Linked DNA regions of Homo sapiens: region 2 is linked to region 1. The links are contacts of gene promoters, found by promoter capture Hi-C in human tissues and cell types (Jung and others, 2019). All regions are on one chromosome and are shown on one strand. The core of a region is centred on a gene start or on the middle of the fragment in contact, and the rest is flanking DNA. Distances in the headings are between cores, read along the strand shown. Region 1 holds the start of KIAA1958. Region 2 overlaps UGCG (UDP-glucose ceramide glucosyltransferase).

Region 1 (6,332 bases), core at 3,833-6,332:
ATTAAAAATCAGCGGGGTATGGCCGGGCGCGGTGGCTCACACCTGTAATCCCAGCACTTTTGGAGGCCAAGGCAGGTGGATCACAAGGTCAAGAGATCGAGACCATCCTGGCCAACATGATGAAACCCCGTCTTTACTAAAAATACAAAAATCAGCTGGGCGTCATGCCGCATGCCTATAGTCTCAGCTACTTGGGAGGCTGAGGCAGGAGAATCGCTTGAACCCGGGAGGCGGAGGTTGCAGTGAGCTGAGATTGCACCACTGCACTCCAGCCTGGCGACAGAGTGAGACTCCACCTCAGAAAAACAAAAAAAGAAAGAAAAGAAAAATTAGCTGGGTATGACGGCACCCACCTGTAGTCCCTGCTACTCAGGAGGCTGATGTGGGAAGATCGCTTAAATGTGGAGGTCAAGGCTGCAGTGTGCTATGATCCACTTTACTCTAGCCTGGGTGACAGAGTGAGACTGTCTCAAAATAAATAAATAAAAATAATGAAAGAAAGGAGCTTGTATTCTGCAATTGTTGGGAGAAATGTTCTAACGTATCATTTTGTTTTAATGCCTCTTTTTGCTTCTGCTTGAAAGTCTTATCTTCCTCATCCGTCTCCTTGGCCTGCTTCTTGGGCTGTTTTAGGGGGTTCTTCTTGCTGCACATGGCACCTGTGCCCCTTCCTCAGACTCTGCCCTCTATTGGACTCCTTTTTCCTTTTTTTTTTTGAGACACAGTCTTGCTCTGTCACCCAAGCTGGAGTACAGTGGCACAAACACAGCTTACTGCGGCCTTGACCCTCCTGGGACCAACTGATTCTCCCACATCAGCCTTCCAAGTACCTGGGACTACAGATGTGTGCCACCCCACCCGGCTAATTTTTTGATTTTTTTTGTAGCGACAGGGTCTCACTTTGTTGCCCAGGCTGGTCCCAAACACCTGGGCTCAAGCAATCCTCCCACCTTGGCCTCCCAAAGTGCTGAGATGATGGGCGTGAGCCACCATGCCTGGCCTACGATTTGTATTTCATGCTTCCTTTTTGAAACAGTTTTATTGAGAAATAACTTACATACCATACAGTTCACCCATTAAAACGTACAATTCAGTAGCTGTTAGTATAATCAGAGTTTCATAAACATCATCCAATTTTACAATATTTTCATCACCCCAAAAAGAAACTTTACTCCTTAGTAGTTACCTCACATTTCCACCAAAACCTCTCAGCCCTAGGGAACTACTAGTCTACTTTCTTTCCCTATTGATTTGTATATTCTAGACACTTCATATAAATGGAATCATATAATATATGACCCTTTGTGACTGGCTCCTTTCCCATAGCTTTGTAAACTTTTCCAGGTTTATCCATGTTGAAGCATGTACCAGTGTCATAAATTTTTTAATATAGTTGCTGCTCTGGCATTCATTTTTAGGCCTGGCCTAAGTCTTTTGAAACCCAGTTGTATACCCAACCCCCTGCTGTCACCTTTGGCCTTGTTAAAACTTACCCTCCTGGCCAGGTGTGGTGGCTCACACCTGTAATTCCACACTTTGGGAGGCCAAGGTGGGAGGATCACTTGAGCTCAGGAGTTCAAGACCAGCCTGGCCAAATATGGTGAAACCTTGCCTCTACTAAAAATACAAAAATTAGATGGGAAGGATGGCGTGTGCCTGTAATCCCAGCTACTCGAGAGGCTGAGGCATGAGAATCGCTTGAATCTGGGAGGCAGAGGAGGCTGCAGTGAGCTGAGATCATGCCACTGCACTCCAGCCCGGGCAACACAGCAAGACTCTGTCTCAAGAAACAAAACAAAACAAACTTCCCCTCCCAGTGTCGTTGAGATATAGCCCACTTGTTCATCTTATAGACTCCCAAACGCAACACATCCCTCAGCTGACCATGAAAAAACCTAATGGTTGACTGAGGGCTGTAATCCCAACACTTTGGGAGGGTGCGGCAGGAGGACTGTTTGAGGCCAGGAGTTTGAGACCACCCTGGGTAACACAGTGAGACCCCTGTCTCTACAAAAAGAAAAAAAAATTAGCTGGGCGTAGTGGCCCACATCTCTAGTCCCAGCTACTCAAGAGGCTGAGGCATGAGGATCGACTGAGGCAGGGAGGTAGAGGATGCAGTGAGCTGAAATCACGCCACTGCACTCCAGCCTAGGCAACAGAGGGAGACCTTGTCTCAAAACAAAACAGAACAAAACAAAAACCTAATGGTTAACACCAGAGTCTTGGAAATAAGTTCCTCTCCTTTGTGCATGTGTTTTTTAAGGGCATAATGCCTATAGACCTAATAAAAGCATAATCTCACAGGTCTCCTTTCTTCTCTCTTTCTCCTCTACTCCTCCTGAGTAGCTGGAACTAGAGATGTGGGCCACCATGCCCAGCTAATTTTTTTTTCTTTTTGTAGAGACGAGGGTCTCACTATGCTACCCAAGGTGGTCTCAAACTCCTGGCCTCAAGCAATCCTCCTGCCGCACCCTCCCAAAGTGCCGGGATTATGGCCCTCAGCCAACCCACTAGGTTTACTGTGATTGCTTTCTCTAGGATCTTCGTTTTTCAAGTCCTAGCTGCCTTAATAGACCTGACTCCAAATTTTGTATCTCCAGGCCAGTAAGACTGCCGGTAAGCTCTAGGGTGCTTCTTTCTGACTTCTACACTCCTAGACACAAATCAACAATGCCCTGAGAAGGAAAAGCGGCTGAGAATGCAGGACTCACTTCAGAGTATTTCTCTTCTTCCTGGGGGGCTCGTGGACTCTCAAGCCTTGGATGACAGGGTTGCTCTCCAATTGTTTTAAACAGACTTATTTATTTTTTTAAACAGCTTTCATCGTTCTCAGTGGCAGAGTTAGTTTGTTCAACAAGGTACCTCATCATGGTTGGATGCCTGCATCATTAAAAAAATTCATTGTAGTGAAATATCCTTTAAACAAATAAAATTAGATTTGTTTTGAAGTTGATTGTGGCAAAAACAATTTAAAATTTACCTTTGTAACTACTTTTAAGTGTACAGTTCGGTGGTGTTATATTTACATTATTGTGTAACATCTCTAGAAATTTTTCATCTTGCAAAATTGAAACTCTGTACCCAGTAAACATTATATCACCATTTTCCCCTCCCTCTACCCTCTAGCAACCACTATTCTACCGTCTTGTTTCCACAAGTTTGACATAATCCCACAGTTTACATACCTCTACATAGTTCATATAGGTCAAATCATAACAGTATTTGTCCTTTTGTGACTGGTTTATTGCACTTGGCACAACATCCTCAAGGTTCATCTATGTTGTAGCCTGTGATAAGATTTCCTTCCTTTTTAAGGCTGAATAATATTCCATTATATGTATATATCACATTTTCATTCATCTCTTCATCTGTTGATGAACATTTGGGCTGCTTCAACCTCTTGGCTATTGTGAATAGTGCTGCAATGAACATGAATGTGCAAATATCTCTTCGATATCCTGCTTTCAATTCTTTTGGATATTTACCCAGAAGTGGGATTGCTGGATCATATGGTAGCTCTAGTTTTAGTTTTTTGAGGAACTTCCCCACTGTTTTGCATAGTGGTGGTACCATCTACATTCCTATCAGCATTGCATAAGAGTTCCAATTTCTCCACAAGATCCCATCTTTAGAATATGCAGCAATTAACTAGGGGGTTTTCATTTTTGGTCTTTTTTGTTTGTACAAACATTATTGTGTCAACATTTACACAGATTTTAAATTTCAGCCTAGACCTGGAAGAGTGTTGATAGAGGAAGGTGTTAAGAACATCAACCGGAATCAGCTCTAGAGATGGAGAGGGGTTGGCAGAAGCTACCTAAAAGAGAACATGCTTGATGTGGTAATGAAGTTACCTGCTTGGATTCTGGACGACCCTGGATATTTTCTCCTTTGCTAAGAAGTTAGCTTCTTTCTCTCCCTCAAAAATATTCTTCTCTTCCCTTACCTACTCCAAGGGTACAAGTGACTGGGGTATGCCTGTCACAGATGAGGTGAGGCCAAGATGTGGGCACTACGTAAGGCCTGACAGATATGGTGTAAATGTTATTTATTACCATGATTACTGTTTTGGAGATGGTCAGTGCTGTAAATAGAAAGGGAGTTAAGAGCAGACTCTGAAGCCAGACTGTCCGGAATGAATCCAGGCTCCTCTAGCTACTATCTATGTGATGTTGAAAAAATTTCTTAATTTCTCTGTGCCTCAGTTTCCTTATCATAAAATGGCAATGTTAATAGCACCCACTATGTAGAGTTCTTAGGATTAAATAAATTAATATTCGCTAAGTACTCAGTGCAAACTGTGGGCACACAGCAAGTACTACGAAAGTGTTAGGTAAAATAAAGGTGGACCAAGCCTGGTAGCACCTAGCAAGTCCAGCTTCATCTTTGCTGTGCTGAGTCGTGTAGGTGGTGTTCTTGTGTCTCTGGTTTGCTGGAGGACCTAGTTTTAGTGTATTTTAGGTATCATTAAGCATCCCCGCTCCCTCGATGGGATAGGGGTGTGTGTGTTACAGGTGGTTGTTGGGCACCTTCACGGGGCAGCGGTGACTATGGGCTGTACGTAGTATCTCGGTAGAAAGTGTTAATGCACATCCCTGGGCGGAGAGGTAACTCTACTCAATGCGTTATAAGGGAAATCACACACCTCACGGATGGTGTAGGTTCTGTCTGCTCCTTGCGTTTCAGTGGAGGTGCACAGAGCTCCGGGGGGCATCGGGGACCGCGGGCCCAGGACGTGTAGTAGGGAGCAGTGCTGTACACTTCCTCGGACCATAGCGGGGACGGCGGGTTCCACACCTGTCGGGGCAGTAGGGACTGAGCTCGTGCGCGCGGAGGATGGATTGCTCCAACCTCTCGGTCCAGCGCGCCGGCCGCCGCGTGCGAACGTGTGTGCGGCAGGAGGCTCGATCTACACCTCCTCGGGGCAGCAACGACTGCGAGCTCGGTGCGTGCCGTAGGAGGTGTCGTTACACACTTCCTGTGGGTCTCGCCGACCACGGCGCGTTTCCGGTGCCGGCTGGAGCCCGGGGTCCGAGCCCCCGCCCCGCTCGCCGGCCCCGCCCCGGCCCGCCCGCGCCCCGCCCCCTGCCCGCCCGCCGCGCTCCGAGCCGGGCGCGCGGAGCTCGGGGCGCACGGAGCGGCGCGCGGCGGTCGGCCGAGCCAGGCTGGCGCCCCCGCCCCCCGCCCCGCTCCTCGGTCCGCCGCCCGCCGGGCGCCTTCCCCGCTCCACTTACCTTTGGTGCCCGGCCCTCTGGCCGCTCTCCTCCCGCCCTCGCGCCCCTTCGGCCCGTCCCGTCCAGCCCGGGCTGCCCGGCTCTCGCAGGCCCCCCCGCGCCGACCGCGTTCCTATGGACAGACGCACAGACACCTGCAGGTGGGTGAGAGCCCGCGCGCGGGGCGGGGACGAGTGCGCCGACGCCGCGACCCAGGCGGGGAGCCCCTTTGTGTGGGGGGCGGCCGCGCCGGGGTCGACTCTGCTTCCCCGTCAGCGGCCGCGCGGTGACCCGGCTGAACCTTCCTTTTGTCTCCTCTCGGGGGAGCGAGGCCGGAGCGAGGGCAGGGACCCGGGCGGCCGCTCGTCGGCAGCGCCGGGCTTGGGGGTGCGAGGCGCAGAGACCCCCGGTGGCGGCTCCGGTCCGCCTGCCCCGGGCCGCCCCGCCGCCCGGCAGCTCGGGTCTCAGCGGCGGCTGCAGGCGCAGTGCGTGGGGCTGGCGCCCCCGCTCCTGCTCTTGGGTCTGTCGGAGGTGGGAAGGAGGGCGGGAAGGAGGAGGAAAAGGTCTGTCCTCTTAGTTTCCAAGTCTTGAGATGCTTATGGAGAAAGAGAGGTGGTTCAGGGCTCTGCCCCACTAGTTTTCCTCCTCGGGTGGCTCGCCGAGGTGCGTTTGGGGCGTGTGTGAAGGAACGTGCATGGCTTCGCTCCCTTATTTATTGTTTCTAACGGAGGAGGGCTTTCTCCAAAAGGCTCTTCCGCCCCCCCACCCCCATCTGAGGCTGCGCACAGTGATTTGTGTTTGTTATCAAATATATCGAGAAATGTATTCCCCTGGGTAGGAGGAGGTTGGACTGAACAACGTCAAACCAAAATCAAAGAATGTTTTTGGTTCCTTCAAGTCTTTTTTTTTCTTTAAGGTTTTAGATTGGGACTTTAAAAAAAATGAACGTGGCTGTGATTTTTACAATTATATGTATTTAGTGTGTGTGCGTGTGTGTGTGTGTGTGTGTGTGTGTGTTTTGAAGTTTAGGAGTAAAGTTTTGTTTTTTCCCGAACTCGTTAGGATTCGCAAGACGGAATCCTCTCCCGACGAAATAAACAGCTAACAAGCCAGTCAGGT
Region 2 (7,231 bases), core at 1,869-4,368, 580 kb before region 1:
ATGAGGCCTGAAATTTTGAAGCTCTGAAAAGCTCCCAGGTGTTGCCAATGCTGCTGGTCCATGGGCCACACTTGGAGTATGAAAGTCTGGAAAGACCGCCTCCTAGGAGTAGTTGGATGCTTCCATCTCTCTTCTCTCAAAGTGTTCCAAACATACTTTGATGATAGCCTGTATCACACTGCATTTGCAGAGTCCCGTACAGACTCTACTTCTGAATGAGAGGTGGCGTGTGCACATGTGAGAACCACCTCTCCTATTAACACATGGAAATGCTGTAACGATTAGACACTTACACACCCAGAGCCTGAAAATGTGAAAAGAAAATCTGCATATTCCAGAAACCAAGAGGGAATGCAAAGCAGTGGGTTGGTCTGGTCTGCTAATTTGAATCCCGGTGGGGTTTTAATTTATTGATATTTCTTCTCATTGGTATATTTTCCTGATTCTTTGCATGCTTGGAAATTTTTTAATAGATACCAGACATTTTGAATTTCACCGTGTTGGGTGCTGGATGTTTTTGTTTTTCTGGACTGTTGACTCCAGCTCTTCAATTCATTTTCTTTCTTTTTTTTTTTTTTGAGATGGAATCTTGCTCTGTTGCCCAGGCTGGAGTGCAGTGGTGCGATCTTGGCTCACTGCAACCTCCGCCTCCCGGATTCAAGTGATTCTCCTGCCTCAGCCTCCCGAGTAGCTGGGATTACAGGCACGTGAGGCCACACCTGGCTAATTATTTTTTGTATTTTTAGAAGAGATAGGGTTTCACCATGTTGGCCAGGCTGGTCTCGAACTCCTGACCTCAAATTATCCTCCCGCCTTGGCCTCCCAAAGTGCTGGGATTACAGGCGTGAGCCACCGCACCCAGCCTACCTTATTTTCTGTGTCATAGGAATCACTGTCTTCCTTTGCTTGATGTCCAGTATCTTCAAAACTGTTGTCTCCTGTATTTTTTTCTGATTTTTTGGTTGTTTCAGGTGGGAGAGAGTAAATCCAGTTAGCGTTTCTTCATCTTGTCCAAAAGTTGAAGGCTTGGGGGGTGGGTGGTGGGAAGAGTAGGGCTTTTAGTACTAGTGCGAGGACAGAGTCAGTGCTGCACACTAGTTATAATAACCTCAAACTGTAAACAACCCAAACATCCATCAACAGAAAGTAAATAAAGTGTGGTATATTAGTAAAACTATCCTGTAACAAGAGTGAATACATGATAGCTAAATGTAACAACGCGGATGATTCTCACAAACATAACGCAACCCAAAGAGGCCAGACAGGAAAGATACATCCTATGGGATTCCATTTATATAAAAATTTAAAGCCAGCAAAACTAGTCTGAAGTCAGGACAGTGAGTACCCTTGAGGGGAGCATAGTACGTGGAAGGAGACACGAGAGGACTTCTGGGGTTCTGCTAATACTGTTTTTTGATCTGGGTACTGGTTACATGAGAGTTTCACTTTGAGAAAATTCTTTGAGCTGTGTACTTACAGGTGACTTTATAATATGTACATTATGTATCAATAAAAAGTACCCCCCACACCACTTCCCCAACAAAAAGGTCAAGGCTGCAAGCCAGATGCATTATAGGAAGGTAAGAACTGGATTCCCAGTATAGAACCTAGAAAGCAAGTCGTCTGCCCTAGGCTGAGGGTAGAAATGGACACCCATGAGAAAGCTTGTGCAACGTGTAGGAATCATAGGCTCAAGTTCATACTGTCTAGGAAATGCAGAAACCCTGATCTGAGACACTAAAAGAAAAACTAGTTAGAAACCAGTAAAACTTGTAAGACCCTGTCCGAGCCACTTATAATACTGCCCCACTTTAAGGGCTCCACCGTGGAGGCCACTTTTGAAACACTAGGCAATTGATCACAGTGCCCTCCCTCCCTCTCTCCCTCTCTGTCACCCAGGCTGGAGTGCAGTGGTGCGATCTCGGCTCACTGCAACCTCTGCCTCCCAGGTTCAAGTCATTCTTGTGTCTCAGCTTCCCGAGTAGCTGGAATTATAGGCGTGTGCCACCACGCCCAGCTAATTTTTCTATTTTTAGTAGAGATGGGGGTTTTGCCATGTTGGCCAGGCTGGTCTTGAACTCCTGACCTCAAGTGATCCGCCTGCCTCATCTTCCCAAAGTGCTAGAATTATAAGCATGAGCCACTGCACCAGCCCACAAGGCTACTTCTGACCTTGGAAACTCTTCTTTATTTTGAAAAAAACCACTGGGATTTAAAAAATGTTTTTGAAAAAAAATCACTGGGATTTAAAAAAATTTTTTTGAAAAAAATCACTGGGATTTTAGAGCTTTTTATTCTGTCATCCACATCTCAAACTCTTTCATGATTTCTGTGTAGAAATCTGTAGATTGGTTTCCAACACACTGGTCATGGCCAAAGGCATTGTTTCCACCTGTGGAACGATTCTCCAGAGCAAAGCTTTGTTGACATCTTTAAGAGTTTTGTAAGGAGAAGAGCTTCTGGGCATGTGCAACCCAACTTCCCCATTAAGCCACAGCTCCTTCACAGTAGGGAATTCACCTGTTGCTTGTTGCATTCCAGTGCATATGATAATGACTAGTGTACATTCGGGGCTGTAAAGATGTTGTCCAGTAAGTGACTGCAAAGCAGTCATGGAGTACCACTGTGTGCTGAGCCTAGTGCTAGAGGTGTTTTGTTTATTTGGTGACTTAATGGATATTCTTCTATTGTTTTGACAAACATTTCAAGTAATTTGTACCACATGGCTTTGTTGGTTGCGTTATGTAAGTCAAAACAGTATTCTGCAAGGTAGGATCTCGTACCCTAGGGGGTACACAACAAACTGACCTGTTGGGTTTTGGAAAGAAAATATTAGAGAGAGACAGGGACAGAGGGGAGGCACAAATACATTTTTTAAAGGCCCTGTGATATAGTCTGGCTTATTTTGAGTAGAAATTTCAGATATAGTACTTAACAATTCTCTTTATCCATAAACCTAGAGAGGGCTTTGTGGCTGTTGAGAGAGTCAGAATGAATCTATGATAAAATACTGCATTCTCAACATGAAAAGTTCTTCAAAGGAGGAGGTGTATCTAATGATATTTAAAGTAAAACATCTTGGGAGAAGGGAGAAGTAGGATCTACTCTAAACTTTACCAAAATGTAATCGCCTCTAGACTATTCAGTACAGCTTAGATGATCTTCGTTGCTACTGTTTTTGATCTAAAGCCTTGCCACAGGCACTGAGATTATTAGTGGGCCAGTTCTCTCTGCTACTTAGCCAGCACTTGACCTGCATGTTTTGGTAGTTTAATAGCACTTAAGGATCACACAGTGGGACCAACAGATAAAAATCACTGGGATTTTAGACCTTCTTATTCTGTCATCCACATCTCAAACTTTTTCATGATTTCTGTGTCTTTACCTGTCCCTCTCTCTGGGCTGCATTCTGGATAGCTTCTTCTAATCTAGATGCCAATTCTTTCGTAAATTGTGAGTACGTAAGATTCTGTATTACTTGTCTTTTGAGTTTCTGATGTCAGTGATTGTAACTGTCATTCCTAGAACTTGTGTGGTTCTTTTCATATTATTTGTGGTCATATATAATGATTTCCCTCATTTCCTTCTCTTCTCTTGGGTTTTGTTCAGGTACACAGGGAGGTTGCATTCTTGGCCCAAACCCACGTGGTGAGGTGTTCTCCAAGAAGACTTTTTTCTTTTTTGTTTTTGTTTTTGTGTGAGATGGAGTCTCTCTCTGTTGCCCACGCTGAAGTGCAGTGGCGCGATCTCTGCTCATTGCAGCCTCTGCCTCCCAGGTTCAAGGGATTCTCATGCCTCAGCCTTCCAAGTAGCTGGGACCACAGGTGCACACCACCATGCCTGGCCATATTTTGTATTTTTTAGTAGAGACGGAGTTTCACCATGTTGACCAGGCTGGTCTCAAACTCCTGACCTCAAGTGATCCACCTGCCTCCACCTTTGAAAGTGCTGGGATTGCAGGCATGAGCCACTGTGCCTGGCCAAGACTTTTTTCTTTTATTCTATTTCACTGAGGACTGAATCCAAGATAGAGAGCATCCGCATCTTCCCTCTATGGACCAGGATTTTTCTGCTTGCCTTTCAGGGAGTCCAGATTTACCCAAGGCTCTCAGAACAGTTGTCCTGTCATTCTTATCTCAGGCTTCTCTCCATCTCCAGGTCACCAGTAGATGGTCAGGAGGCAAGCATGGACTCTAGCACTCAGTCACTGAAGAGGTTTTTTTCTCATTTCTGACCTTAGAGACTCTTCTTTATTGTCCTAACGGTTCAATTATGTATTTTAAAACATGCTTTTACTACACTTGTATTAAAAAGGAAGAGAGACAAGTTTATGAATATGTACATATATAATTCATATATACCATAAATGTGTGTATATATTTTGACTTGTATATGCATTTTTAAAACCTCTGGAAGGACAAGAAACTAGTAATGCTGGGGAAGCAGTAATGGAAACAGGCAGATGGGGGGCCAGTGGTGACAGATTTCTTTTATCAGACCCTCTTAATATTTTTAGTGATTTGAACCATATCAGTATATTACCAGTTCAGGGGCTGAACGTGGTGGCTCATGCCTGTAATCCCAGCACTTTGAGAAGCCAAGGCAGGAGGATTCTTTGAGCCTAGGAGTTCAAGACCAGCCTGGGCAATATAGTGAGACCCCATCTCCATAAAAAAATAAAAAAATTAGCCTGGTGTGGTGGAGTGTACCTGTTATCCTAGCTACTGGGGAGGCTAAGGTGGCAGGATCGCTTGAGCCTGGGAGATGCAGATAATTACACCACTGCATGCCAGCCTGAGCAACGGAGCAAGACCCTATCTCATATGTGTATATTCAACAGGATATATATATATATATATATATATATATATATATATATATATATATATATATTCAACAGGATATATATATATTCAACAGGATACATATATATATTCAACAGGATACATATATATATTCAACAGGATATATATATATATATATATATATCCTGTTGAATCAATTAATTGTGTAATATAAACTTTTTTCCCCAGCAGTCTAGATGTTCTTTACCTGGTGGGTTTCAGGCATCTAGTCTGCTATTTTGTTAGAAATAGAATAGTGATTACTTTTGTGGTTATATGCGTTTTAGATCGTGGTTTTACCTGTCTGGTCCTCCAGATGAACTCTGTAGAGCAATATTTTCCAAACTATCTATGGCAAAGCAGTTGTTCTTTAAAATTATCCAATCTGGCTGGCTGTAGTGGTTCACACCTGTAATCCCAGCACTTTGGGAAGCCGAGGCGGGCAGATCACTTAAGATGAAGAGTTCGAGACCAGCCTGGCCAACATGGTGAAACCCTGTGTCTACTAAAAATACAAAAAGTTAGCTGGGCATGGTGGTGCATGCCTGTAATCCCAGCTACTTGGGAGGCTGAGGCAGGGGAATCATTTGAACCCGGGAGGCGAAGGTTGCAGTAGCTGAGATCGCACCACTGCACTCCAGCCTGGGTCGCAGAGCAAAACTCTGTCTTAAAAAAATAAAAAAAAAAAAATTCCAATCTGCCATGAGCCAATACTTTGGTAAACTACAATAAAAATAAATTGCTGATCACATGCTTGATGTCATGGCAATGTTAAATTGCTATACAAGTTTCTAAAAGGTTTCACTCAATTGTTTCTCACTTGCAAACCAGTAAAAAGCAATGCTGGACCAGACCACACTTTGAGTAGCACTGCGATAGATGGTGCTCCAGTATTTTCTGGTACTTGGTGTATCAGAAATTGATACCACCCTGTTCTTTAAATTTCTTGTTGGTTTTAAAGTTTTTCCATTGTAAACCTGGTGTGTGTGTGTGTGTGCGTGTGTGCACGTGTGTGTAAAACTGTATGGCCTTATCTAAAACGTTAGATGTTTGCTACAGCACACACCTGCCTTAGTTAGAGACCAAGCCCATGGCTAAGTGGTCTGGGTGGTGGTACCGGTGTCCCTCCAGAAGTCTTTCCCAGTTTAATAGTGGATTTTATCAAATCAAGATGCATTGATGCAAGTATTTTTTGATCATCTAGAAGTTCTCATTGGTTGATTTTCACAGTAAGTCAGAGCTGCCATCTGCCTGGCAGCAATTGTAAGGTACCATTGATGTCAGAGATGTTAAAATGTGGAAGAACATGTGTCTTAGAATATCTTGCAGATGGACCCATGATGTTCTAGTGCCTAATTACTGTCGAATGCTTGGAGACTTGTTTATGAGAAGTACTTGTCACATATTTACTAGAAGTAGGAGGAAGGCTTCAGTGGCTTCCTTTAGAAACTTCACCACTGTATTGAATGGCATCTTGTTGCAACAGCCTGATGTTAACTGGGGCACGTTCTGTCTTCTCTAGCATTGCTTCTTTCTTTTTTTTGAGACGGAGTCTCACTCTGTCACCCAGGCTGGAGTGCAGCGGCACAATCTTGGCTCACTGCAACCTCCACCCCCGGGTTCAAGTGATTCTTCTGCCTCAGCCTCCCGAGTAGCTGGGATTATAGGCACCCACCACCACGCCCAGCTAATTTTTTTTTTTTTTTTTTTTAGTAGAGATGGAGTTTCAGTGTGTTGGCCAGGCTGGTCTCGAACTCCTGACCTCAAGTGATCCACCCGCCTCAGCCTCCCAAAGTGCTGGGATTACACAGGTGTGAGCCACCACACCTGTGTGGCATTGCTTCTTTCATTAGGAGCCCTGCTGTGCTGCAGCATCCTTGCAATGGACAAGCAGTGAGAACGTTGGCCATTTGGTCACTTATCTATGAACTGGTGGCACTGGTATATCTTCCAGTGTCATTAATAGACATTTTTCTCATCATTGAGTTTTTTTCTTACTTTCAGTTTCCTTCTGTTCTACCCCTGCCATTCTGACCTTATTAATATTGGGAGTTCCAGTTGTCCCATTATCTTGCTTGCCATGCAGACTGCTTGACACTTCTTTTAACTGTGTATTATCCCACTGCAAAGAAATTTCTCAGAAAGTTCTGGTTATCCTTTCATAATTTTCTGCTGCAGACGGTGTTTTATTTTACCTGTTTTTATAGTTCTGTGGCCACTTCAGTGGCAATTTAAGAGGAAGAGGAGTTAATCTTTGGGCTAACACTGCCATTCATTTCTTCACCATGTATTTTATTGAAATGCCTGCGCTATGCCTGGCATAGTTCTGTGAGTATAGCAATAGTCAGAGAGTAGTACATCATGGGTATTCAATCTTTTGGCTTCCC

What was found. The method cuts DNA at HindIII sites, captures the fragments that hold promoters and counts their contacts. A contact is called where the count stands out against the background at its distance.
Region 2: a contact is called between a fragment that was not itself captured here and the fragment with the promoter of KIAA1958 in region 1, in 1 of the 25 tissues and cell types used here (aorta).

What each region holds. Positions count from the first base shown.
Region 1 is chr9:112,481,745-112,488,076 of GRCh38, forward strand. KIAA1958 reads left to right here and starts at 5,083. Exons shown (of 4, transcript NM_133465.4): 1 at 5,083-5,374. It overlaps HSDL2-AS1 (HSDL2 antisense RNA 1), which reads right to left and starts at 5,900. Exons shown (of 5, transcript NR_171779.1): 1 at 5,235-5,900; 2 at 4,646-4,797. RefSeq lists an enhancer at 4,562-4,621 and silencers at 5,052-5,111, 5,192-5,681. The HindIII fragment of the contact is 14,239 bases long and covers 1-6,332 here.
Region 2 is chr9:111,907,065-111,914,295 of GRCh38, forward strand. All of the region lies in intron 1 of UGCG (UDP-glucose ceramide glucosyltransferase), which reads left to right. Among named protein-coding and RNA genes, the nearest start is that of UGCG, 14 kb to the left of the region's middle. RefSeq lists an enhancer at 2,399-2,458. The HindIII fragment of the contact is 4,643 bases long and covers 798-5,440 here.